Regions from separate parts of the Homo sapiens genome. Here region 2 is linked to region 1. Evidence: promoter capture Hi-C in 16 types of primary human blood cells and fetal thymus (Javierre and others, 2016). All regions are on one chromosome and are shown on one strand. Each heading gives the region's core, a stretch centred on a gene start or on the middle of the fragment in contact. The rest is flanking DNA. Distances are from core to core; before and after follow the strand shown.

Region 1 (2,865 bases), core at 111-2,610:
CATGTGTTTATTCCCCAGGCGCGCACACACGGTCTACCCCCGCAAGCAAGCACGACGACAGGAATGTCAAGCATTTAAACAAAGACAGACATCCTTCACCCTCCACCCACCGCCGCCCCTGCCCCCCGCAACCATCCAAAGTCTGAGCTCCCAAAAAAGGATCTTTCTCCAGCTCTCTGGAGTTTGATGTTCTCTCTTCACTACTGCAGCCCGTCATGGTTTTTCAGAACAGAGTGGCTTTCTGGGCGCTCGTAGGTTCCCCAGGACCCCGATAACCATGTCCTAACCAAGATCCTAAATCGCGAACCGGAGACACTTTCCGGGGGGAGGAGGACGTCGTCTGAGAGGGAGGGAGAAGGAGAAACCTATCCTGACACCAGCTCCGAAAGCTCTCACGCGTGAACTGGGCATTAGTCAAGGGAGGAGGAAATTTACCAGCCCGAGGGAGGGAAAACAAGTCCCCCAGAGAAGACGGCGGTACTCGCTAGGGAGGGGGACTGGGCTTTGGCTTAAAGAGGACTGGCTGGGATTGGGCACACTTTGAGCGGCCCCTGGAGCTGAGGCTGGGCTTTCCCGAGCGCGGCGGCTGGCTGACGCTCCCTCCCGCCTCCTTATCCCGGGCCCTCCTCCCTCGCTCTCTCCTAGTGTGTAGTTTCGGCGGCTCGGCTGCTACTGCCGCCGCCGCTGCAGCAGCAGCGTCAGGGACAAGCCTGATCCGTGAGCGAGCGAGCACCCAGCAGCAACCACCACTTTGGGCAACTTGCGGGTTTCCTGCTCGCGGGTAGCGAACGGGAGATTCCCACTAGCGGTTCAGTGTCTCCGAGCCGCTGCAGCCCGAGGGGCGGCGGGAGCGCCCGCACCAGACTCTCCCAGACGCGAAAAGGGACGAGACAACTGCGGAATTCACCAGCCGTGCCAGGGCACTTCCGAGGCCACAACCGACTGACACTTTTTCTCCCCTTGGCAAACTGGATTTTTTTTTTTAAGCTACTTGGCAGCTGTCTCTGACTCCACCTCCCCCTCCACCCCCGCCCGAAAGCCTTTGGCTTTTCTTCGGAAATCCAGACAGAATTGGGCATCTTTGTTAATTGCCGTTGGGGACGCCCGGCCGTGCGCTTTCGCCGGCTAACGTCGCCTGTGCTCCGAGCCTGGTTTGCTCACCTTTGAACTGCAAAGGGATCAAGTTCAGCTTGAGTTCCCTGCATTGGGAAGGAGAGAGAGCGTGCAAGAGAGCGAGTGGGAGAGGGGGAAAGGGGAAAGGAGAGGAGGGAGGAGAGAGAGGAGGGAGGAGAGAGAAAGGGAGGGAGGGAGGGGAGGGATCGAGAGAGAGCGGGGAGAGAGAGGCTGCAATCTCCTCCCTGAATCGCGCACAGCGCTGCAGATCCCACTGCTCCGACATGCGGGCCGAATGCAGGTGAGAAAAGGCACGGACTCTGCGGCTGCGAACCCAAACTTGGGCACCGCACGGTGCGCACTGCTCAGCCTTCGCCCCCGTGGGCGAAAGGCTGCTGCGGTTTCAGGCGGCTGCTTCGTGACTAATGACCTTGCGCAGAGTTGTTAAGAAAAAAGAGAAACCCGCGCTCTCCGGGGTGAGAAGGGACTGACTCTGGGCGTCTCTGAAGATGGCTCGGGCTTCTCTTTGGCGCGCCGGGGGGACCCTGACACTGACCGCTCTGTGACGCGAGTAGTCTCCCCTGCACCGTGCCCGAAGCGACGTGCCGGGGGATTTTTCATTCTCGATCTGTTGACTGGCTCCCCCGCTGCATGAGCAGAGTCGGAGTTGAGACTGGCTTGTTGCTGGCCCCAGCGCCTGGTGCAGGAAGCGACTCACGTTTGTCTGGGTGGCCGGAGCCGGAGCAGAGCCTGGGTTTGGAGTGAGTGCCTGGAACGTGAATTGGACTCAACTCGAGTAGCAGCAAAGACCAGCGGGCTGGCAGGCGGGGGAGGCTGCAGGCTCATTCCCCACCTCTTCCCAGCCCCACTGCCCGTCTGCCGGAGCGGTTCTGGCCCCTTCCGACAGAGCGGGGACTAGAGCCGGGGATTCTCCGCCCGCTGAGGGGATGACTCTGGGTTGGGGGAGCGCCGAACCCGCGGCGCGCAGTGTCCCGTGAACTGTGAGTACTGCGACTGAACGGCGGCAGGCGAGCGGGCGATTAGCACCCATTGCATGAATTATGAAACAATAACTTTCGGAAGAAGCAGGAGGAAAAAAAGAAGCATCTATCGCTGCCCTCCCACCCCCATTCCCGGCCAACTCTCCACGCCGCTTTTGCCCCCTCCCTCCCCTCCCTCTCGCTCCTTCCTTTCCGGGAGAGGGGAGAGGACTCGGGGGAGGGCAGGCGGCCGGCCCCGGAGGAGGGGGGCGCCGAGGGGGCTGTGGTTAGAAGGAGCAGTAGCAGCAGCAGCAGGAGAAGATGCTGAGGATGCGGACCGCGGGATGGGCGCGCGGCTGGTGCTTGGGCTGCTGCCTCCTCCTGCCGCTCTCGCTCAGCCTGGCGGCCGCCAAGCAGCTCCTCCGGTACCGGCTGGCCGAGGAGGGCCCCGCCGACGTCCGCATCGGCAACGTGGCTTCAGACCTGGGCATCGTGACCGGATCGGGTGAGGTGACTTTCAGCCTGGAGTCCGGTTCCGAGTACCTGAAGATCGACAACCTCACTGGCGAGCTGAGCACGAGCGAGCGGCGCATCGACCGCGAGAAGCTGCCCCAGTGTCAGATGATCTTCGACGAGAACGAGTGCTTCCTGGACTTCGAGGTGTCGGTGATCGGGCCCTCGCAGAGCTGGGTGGACCTGTTTGAGGGTCAGGTCATCGTGCTTGACATCAACGACAACACGCCCACCTTCCCGTCGCCCGTGCTCACGCTCA
Region 2 (2,865 bases), core at 258-2,757, 5.2 Mb after region 1:
GAAACCACTGTGCTCAGTAGTATTTGGTAAGAATTTGTGTGAGATTTTTCAGAAAGCAAATGGAGACTTCCCAGAGACAAGCAAATTTTAAACTACTGAGACTCTAAAGAAGACATTTAACATTAGTAAAAATGACTTCAGTAGAAGGGAGATGGAAGAAATAAATATGAGGCTTCATTAGCTCAATGAAAAATGGCCAGAACTTGCAGAAGAAAACAATGATTTGAGAAAGTGAAACTCATAATATTTGGCCCTTATTATAATTTTCTTCTATTCATATTTAGTTTTATTTAAGCCCATAATCAAGAAAAGAAAGACTTTCCTTGAAATTTGAAACTGGAATCAGAATGGTAAGATTCTATTCCCAAGTATTACAACTGTGTACAGCCTTTGCATCTCTTTAAAATTTTGATTGAACTTTATCATCATCTTTTAGTAGACAAATGTAGGTTATAAGAAGTACATATTTAGAATTTTATGCAATTTTTTTGCAAATGAGATACCTTTGAGTTCCAGCTCTATGAATGAAATATAAATTCTTAGTCAAATAAATTGTTCCATTCCATCCTGAGCAATACAATGAGATACTCAGACTTAAAAAAAAAAAAATTCCTGAGCCTAGATGTATATCAGAATAACCTGGCTAACCTTTAAAAAATACAGCTTCTTGGGCCTCACTCCAGGTTTGTTGAATAGCAGTAACCCACAAGAAATACCTAGAATCTATATTTTTCAAAAGCTCCCATAGAGAATCTCATGCAGTTATTCCTTGCCTGCAGACTTGTTTTTGAGACCCAATGGTTAAGCTATACTCACAAAGAAAGAAAAGCTATTATTTACTGAGCATCTACTACCAGGTACTAACTAGATGCTTCAAAATGCTATCATAATGATTCTTCTTAATGCAGGGACACTGTAGTGTACTGAATAGTGTCCCGCAATATTCTTATCCAACCAGACCCTTACAATGTAACCATTTTTGGAAATAAGGTATTTGCAGATGTAATTAAAATGAGATTACACTAGATGAGGATGGACGCTAAATCTAATGACTGGTGTAAGCATCAGAAGAGGAGAGGGCACACATACATATAAAAAAAGGAGACAGACGGAGAGAAGAAAGCCATGAGAAGACGAAGGCAGAGACTGGAGTGATGCAGCTACAAGCCGAGGAACGCCAAGGACTGCCCAGAGCCACTGGAAGCTAGAGGAGGCAAGGAGAGAGCCTTCAGAGGGAACATGGTCCTGCTGACACATTGATTTCAGACTTCTAGCCTCCAGAACTGGGAAAGAGTACACTTCTCTTGTTTCAAGTCCACCCAATTTGTGGAAGTTTGTAATGGCAACCCTAGGAAACTAATACAGACAAAGAGACTCAGAGAAGTTCAGCAATCCGCCTGAGTTATTCAGATAGAAGGTGATGAAGCAGGGTTTCAAACTCTGGCCCCATTGATTCCAAAGCACATGGACTAAAACAACACTGGCAGAGTTCAATAGACCAAGATTCAAGCAGCATTTAGTCAAAGTGGGGTTCCTAGATGGCCTAGAGATCACCTGGGGACCTTGTTAAAAATGCGTGTACCTTGATACTACCTGGAATTACTCCATAAAAAAGTTTTGCAAGCTGGACCTAAGAACCTACTTTTAACAGGTATCTCAGAAAATCGTCACTCATATTAAAGTTTGACATCACTGACTAGAGAGTTGGCAATCTTTAACGTGACATTTTTTGCTTTTCATTAAAGTATATCCTGAACATATGAAACAAATAAGTAAAATGACAAATGTTATTAGAGAAATTAATGTGATGAAGTCAACATGTACTTTACTTCAAACCTTTTTTATGTAAAACCAGGATACTAAGGAAAATGTACATAACTAACATTCATACTTCCCCCATATATGAAGCTGATCATGTTCCATTCTTTCCCAAACCTTGAAGAAGATAAGCAGATATTACACTTATTTGTATATCATAGGAGAGGAGGCTAAGATTGGAGCCTTAGAGAAATTTACAAATCACTCTCCTGTGGTTTATTGCTAGAGCATGACATTTTTTTCTGTCCATACATTGGAAAAAATTTAGTTGGGAATTAAATGAAAATAACATGGGTGGGAGAAGTGTATCTCACTTATTTTCACAGGAAAGCGGAGAGAAAGATAACAGGAAAAGGATATGTTGTTTTTTAAAGCCATGGAAAGAAAAGTAGAAAACAAGTGTGTGAGAAGCCAAAGAGAAGAACTCTATGTTAAAGAGAACTTCAAAAAGCCCTAGAGAGCATAGAAACTCAGGCTATCGGATGTGATCAATTTTTATCAGAGCATACTCAAAAGTTATTCATTAGTTTCTAAACCTTCATATATATTTAGACTGTGATTTTCTTGGAGATTTCACTCTATTAACAACATTAACTGGACTAAGAAGAACAAATGAACTGAAGAATTTATATTCTCCATCTAGACGATGAAGAAAAAGAAAAGTGACGATTCTTCTCTGAAGTAGCCTCTTGTACTCAGCTTTTCTCTCACAAAAGTATTATTTCTATCTGTTGACCCTGAAGATGCAGTTAAAAATGTTTTCTTTTCAATCAAAAGGCTTCTTCTAGGGCAATTGTGTGTGTGTATGGTATGACTTGTCTTTTTCTTAAAGCACATCATAGCTGTTTAAAAGTTGTGTTTGTGTGCATGTGTATGTGTGTGTATTTGGCTTTCTCAATTTGCTTTCGGAAAATGTAAACTAGAAGGAAATATTTTTTAAAAAGCAGTTACCAAAAAACTTTAACAGAAAGGAAAAGTAGGAAAAGAGTGGGACAGAAAGAAAAAAAATGGTAGACGATGAACTGTACTAAGGCACAAATAGCTTGG

What was found. The method cuts DNA at HindIII sites, captures the fragments that hold promoters and counts their contacts. A CHiCAGO score of 5 or more calls a contact.
Region 2: a fragment that was not itself captured here is called in contact with the fragment with the promoter of PCDH7 in region 1 in 1 of 17 cell types (M2 macrophages); the score reaches 5.3 in M2 macrophages.

The regions. Positions count from the first base shown.
Region 1 is chr4:30,719,009-30,721,873 of GRCh38, forward strand. PCDH7 (protocadherin 7) reads left to right here and starts at 1,361. Exons shown (of 3, transcript NM_001173523.2): 1 at 1,361-2,865. The coding sequence starts at 2,415. It overlaps LOC124900844, which reads right to left and starts at 113. Exons shown (of 1, transcript XM_047416545.1): 1 at 1-113. RefSeq lists an enhancer at 2,170-2,865. The HindIII fragment of the contact is 9,617 bases long and covers 1-2,865 here.
Region 2 is chr4:35,927,103-35,929,967 of GRCh38, forward strand. No RefSeq gene overlaps it. Among named protein-coding and RNA genes, the nearest start is that of ARAP2, 320 kb to the right of the region's middle. The HindIII fragment of the contact is 5,644 bases long and covers 1-2,865 here.